Linked DNA regions of Homo sapiens: region 2 is linked to region 1. The links are contacts of gene promoters, found by promoter capture Hi-C in blood cells and fetal thymus (Javierre and others, 2016). All regions are on one chromosome and are shown on one strand. The core of a region is centred on a gene start or on the middle of the fragment in contact, and the rest is flanking DNA. Distances in the headings are between cores, read along the strand shown.

Evidence for each region. Contacts are between HindIII fragments. The CHiCAGO score rates a contact against its expected background, and 5 or more counts as called.
Region 2: the fragment with the promoter of ATG13 here is called in contact with the fragment with the promoter of SPI1 in region 1 in 1 of 17 cell types (neutrophils); the score reaches 7.6 in neutrophils.

The regions. Positions count from the first base shown.
Region 1 is chr11:47,377,222-47,379,821 of GRCh38, reverse strand. SPI1 (Spi-1 proto-oncogene) reads left to right here and starts at 1,275. Exons shown (of 5, transcript NM_003120.3): 1 at 1,275-1,513. The coding sequence starts at 1,469. RefSeq lists enhancers at 1,112-1,181, 677-1,628, 1,802-1,851, 2,522-2,600. The HindIII fragment of the contact is 19,336 bases long and covers 1-2,600 here.
Region 2 is chr11:46,616,247-46,618,846 of GRCh38, reverse strand. It overlaps ATG13 (autophagy related 13), which reads right to left and starts at 1,294. Exons shown (of 19, transcript NM_001346311.2): 1 at 957-1,294. HARBI1 (harbinger transposase derived 1) reads left to right here and starts at 1,620. Exons shown (of 3, transcript NM_173811.4): 1 at 1,620-1,723; 2 at 2,466-2,600. RefSeq lists a silencer at 1,034-1,328 and an enhancer at 1,308-1,487. The HindIII fragment of the contact is 4,045 bases long and covers 1-1,434 here.

The DNA.
Region 1 (2,600 bases), core at 26-2,525:
CATATGCGAAACAACGCAGAAACAGAAAGTCAAATACTGCCTGTTCTCATGGGGCTCCTGGAAACCGAAGCTGATAGGTGAATGGATGGATAGGTGGATGAATAGATGGGTGGAATGGTAGGTGGGTGGATTGGTAGATGGGTGGATGAGTGGACTGGTGGATGGATGGATGAATGAATGAAGGGGTAGGTGGATGATGGATGGGTTGATGGACAGATGAGTGGATGGGTAGATGGGTGGATGAGTGGATGGGTGGATGGATGGACAGGTGGATGAATGGATGAGCAGATTCATAGATGGATAAACAGATGGAATTGTGGACTGATGGACTGATAGCAGGTGGACGGGCTGATTAATGGACATATAGATGGTTAGATAGACAAGTAGATAAACAGATGGGTGGGTGGATGAATTGACTGACAGATGAATGAACAAACAAACGGACAGTTGGATAAATGGACACATAAGTGAATGCATGGTGGGCTTGATGAATGGATAGCTGGATGGACAAATAGACAGACAAATAGATGCATGGGAAAACAGATGAATGGTGGATAGGCAAGAAAGGTTTGTAAACCAGGAGGGTTAGATTGATATTCAGGCATTGCCAAGGGATGGGGAAACTGAGAAACCTGGGCTGGAAACAGAGCCCTAGGGATTTGAATGTGGTAATCAAGAAGCTGGGAGGGGAGGGTATAAGAACCCAGGACCCTCTTCTGGTGGTAGGGAAGCCCATGTGAACAGATTCAGAGGGAAGGAAGAAAGCAGCACTATGCTGAAGACCCTACACCTGAGCCCAGCCTCAGCCTAGGGATAGCCTAGGCAGTGGGGGTGCAGGGCCACAGGAAGAGCCAGGCCTGATAGCCTGCTAGATCAGAGCCCTCACCCAGGAAGGCTGACTCCAGAAAGTGGAGGCCCCAAGAGGCCACCCCTTCCAGCTCTGACCCCAATGAGGTGACTGTTGGCTACATAGGGATCTCAAAAGAAGCAGGCATTTGTTGGGTTAGAGCAAAAGCCTCCCAGTGGTGTGGCAGAGCTACACGTTCTCCCTCCCATCCTCCCTCCCCAGCTTAGCCCCCAAAGTCATCCCTCTCAGTCCCAGCTTCCTCTGGGCAGGGGGCCTGGACCCCATGGCTTCCCAGGCCAGCCCTTTGAGCACCACCTGCCCCAGCCGGCCAGAGACTTCCTGTATGTAGCGCAAGAGATTTATGCAAACGGGTTGGGGCGGTGATGTCACCCCAAGGGGACTATCTCCCAGCGGCAGGCCCTTCGATAAAATCAGGAACTTGTGCTGGCCCTGCAATGTCAAGGGAGGGGGCTCACCCAGGGCTCCTGTAGCTCAGGGGGCAGGCCTGAGCCCTGCACCCGCCCCACGACCGTCCAGCCCCTGACGGGGCACCCCATCCTGAGGGGCTCTGCATTGGCCCCCACCGAGGCAGGGGATCTGACCGACTCGGAGCCCGGCTGGATGTTACAGGCGTGCAAAATGGAAGGGTTTCCCCTCGTCCCCCCTGTGAGTACCGGGACTCCTCCACCAGCCCAACCCGTGGCCCTCGGACGCCTGCCTGCCTGCCCACGAACCCGCCAGCCCACCCACTGCCCTCCTGGCTTGCTATCAGTGGGAAGTCAGGGTTTCCTCCCTGGAACTCCTGGCCTGAGACCCAGCGAGGGGGCCATTGGCTTCCTCGGAGCATGCCCTGGCGGGCTGAGGCCAGGCCCACGGTGGGGCTGTGATCGGTGGGGCCTGAACAGTTATTTATAGACAGGGCTCGGGTGGCAGGCGGAGGCCGGGGCTCCTGGGGAGGGTGCTGGGCTGAGGATGGTGAAGGCGGTGGTAGAGAGGTAGAGGAGGGAGATGGGGGGACTGGCTTGGGGGAGGCCGGTCCCCTGGATGGGAAGGGGTTGAAGGCAGGAGGCAATGGGCAGAAGTCTTGGCCCATGGCCTTGGGGCTCCTGGAAACCAAAGCTGATGGAACTCTGGGTCCCCAACGCCCAGTCTGGGGCCTGGCACAGAGGACATGATTGTTGACCAAAGGGTCAGGGCCATGGGCCCACAGGGGTACCCACAGGAGACAGGGACTGGTGCTGGAAAGGAGCCAGGAGTGGAGCTGAGACAGTGCAGTTAGGGCTGGCCCCAGGGCTGGAGTTCAGGGAGAGGCGCGGCAGGGGACAGGGCTGGGACAAGGCCAGGACTGAGATTGGGGCTGGGTGGGACCTGGGGTGAGCATGTGATAAGTGAGAATGGGGGCTGAGGCTGGGACAAGGACAGGGACTGGGTCTTGGGGGTGAAGAAGTGGGAGCCCCAGGGGACCCCGAGAAGAGAAGGGCAGATCGCCACTGCTCCTCACTCTCAGTGACAGTTGCAGCCTTAGGCAGGTGTCAGACCAGGGTCCCTCGGAAAGGACCCTTCTCCCTTTTCCCACCCCATGACCTCTCAGGAGTGAGGAGGCTTGAGGGGAGCCGGGAAGGGCTTGGCAGGCTGCCCACCTGAATCCACTTTCCTGGTCTAGAGGCAGCTCCCTTCCCCCACTATGCCCTGGCTCAGAGCCACCCCAGGAGGCTGGGAGGCACCCCAGGCCTGACATCACACCAACCCGACC
Region 2 (2,600 bases), core at 45-2,544, 760 kb after region 1:
TACCTTATCTCTAATAATAATAATAAAAATTTTAAAATCTAAAAAACTAAAAGACTTCTCCTGAGCTGATAAATGGAGAGTTGAAAACAACAAAAAAAAAACCTCATAATTGAGCTGGAGCCACTACATGCACACATGAAAAGGACTAACAGTCATAAAACAACACACAAAATCTGGAAGCTAATTTAGTGTAAAGGAAGAGCTTGTTGTTTCTTATTATAATACATCTCCCACTAAAGGTGTCCAATAAATTCTATCACCTTAGGAGATGAGTTTTAAACTAAGTGTAATGAGAAAATAGGTAATTTTTTAAAATCTCTTTTTTCTTTTTGGCTGCGGGGTGGCCAGAGAACGAAGAAATACCAAAAGTGAAATGCTACGCTGAATTGACCAGGCTAACTGGGAACTCACTGGAAAAGTGAAAACTGGGAAGAATTAGTGATGAGCTCAAGAAGGTGCTTAGCCACTTACCCAGAGATTTATTTAATGAGAATGGATCACAGGTTTCCACAGGTCGTTCCACTGCCAGTAAGAAGACAGTCGTGAACCATGGGTCCCTTTTTTCACTAGTCAACAGTCACCCTCACCTACACGCGGAGTACATATTTGGCACTCAGCAAATCTTGATTGAATGAAAACCTACCTCACTCATATTGGCACCCAACCCCGGAGTTATGGCCCCCCAAATTACCTCCAAAACGCCTGACGACCTAACCCAAGGAGCTGAAAAAGTGGAGAGGAAAGCTCTGGGGTGGAGGGGATTCTCTGCCAAACAAGCAGGGGCCAACGGGGCCTAGACCAACTCAACTTCCCACAGAAAACTCAGGGGCCCAGGGGATTGAACCGTGGCTAATCCCTTCTACTTCCACGAAGCAGCAGCCAAGGGGCCGCAGATCCACAGCCTCCCACCCGGGGGCGCTGAGAGATCTTGGGGTATCCCCCGCAAAAGTTAGTACCTGCGAAGCTGCGGCACAAAGAGTGGTTCCGGGCTCTCATTACGGAGGCCGGGACCTGGGACCGACCAGCCGCGCCTCCTGGCTGAGGGTTCCGCGCTCCGGAGCTGCAGTGACCGTACACGTCGCCGATAGACACCTAAGGCTTCAGAAGGGTCCTGGCTCGCAGGCCCCAGACGTTTTGCTCCTAAGACTCCGCGAGTTGTCGCACCCACGTCGACTGGCGCTCTTCAGTGCTTCCCTCACTGGTTAAGCGGTCACTCCCGCCTTAAGCCCAGCAGCCGGTCGCTTCCCGGCGCCGCCATCGTTAGTGTTTGTTTTCATCCGCTTCGGTAATGGCCGGGGGGGGGGGGTGAAAGAGGGCTACGGGGGAAATCCAGATGCCTAACCTTAGTCGCACTTTCGCTACAGTACGGACGCCCTATTTATTCTTTTAGTCCTCAAAATATCCATAAAAGTTGATTTTCATTCCACGTAAGCTTTCTTCTCCAATCTTTCTAAGCTACTCAAGATAAAACAAAGACGGAAAGGCGGTGTTTGAGAGAGAGAGAGAGAGACCGTTTGGGCCGCGTGTGGAATGTGCGGAGATGAACCGCAGGTAGCCGCGGCAGCGGCAGTGAGGGCGCGGCGCGGGGCGGGCGCTGACGCGGAAGGGGCGGTGCCGCTGTTGCGCGCCGTGGCGGCCTCTGTGCAGTCGCCGGTTCCGGAGGAGGGCCCAACCCGGCTGGGTGGGTGGGAAGTGTGGCTGGTAACCTGGCAGCCGCGGAGAGGTGGGTGACGGGCCTGGGCTAACTGAGTGGCCGGCGCAATCAGACTTTGACATCCGTTTTTAGGGTGCCCTTTAAAAGTGGCAGAGTCGCTTCCCAAACCTGGTTCGGCCAGCCTCTTTTTCGCTCCCGACTTCCAATGTGTCTGGTCTTCCGTACTTCCTGGCCCTCAGGTTCACGATTTGGAGTTCTTGGAGTGAGGGAAAAGCCTTTTGTTACAGCACACAGTGTACGTCCATAAGGCTGGGTTGTGGACTTTGGTTGTTTTTTTTTTTTTTTTTTTTTTTTTTTTTTTGCCCCTTCTTTTCTTGTTAGACTGGTTTGAACACCCCAGCATCTGTCCTGTATTTGTCAGGTGAAACCAGAAGTCTTTGGATAATGAAACCCGTGACCAATTCTTACCCAAGGTGGTTATGACATATGTCAGCTGCTTCTTGGCCTATATAGTTAGAAGCCGACCTCTTTTACCTTGTGAATAATTATGTCATCACCTCCATTATTCTTTTGGTGTTCTCAATTGAAATGCCAAGCATTAAATGAGCCACAAAGATTGAATTCCCATTATCCTTGAATCAGAGCAAGCCTGTCGTGCAGCCATGAGTTAGTGGAGAAAAATCCGGAGTTGTAAGTACAGTACGTTTTGCCTCAACAAAATGGAAATTTGTAGAAAAGGAGCTGCTCCAGCCTTTGAGTCACTTTAAAGTCTTTGGTAGGTTCCTAATGTTTTTTCTTTTAACATTTACAGAGAGAAGATTATAAATGGCAGAGCCATTTAACTGTGGTTAGCTGTTGGATTCTGATACTTTCTTAAAAATACGTTCTTGCACCAACATCTTCATTGGGAACAGTTCAGAAAAAGCAAAGAGGAGAGCCAACATTC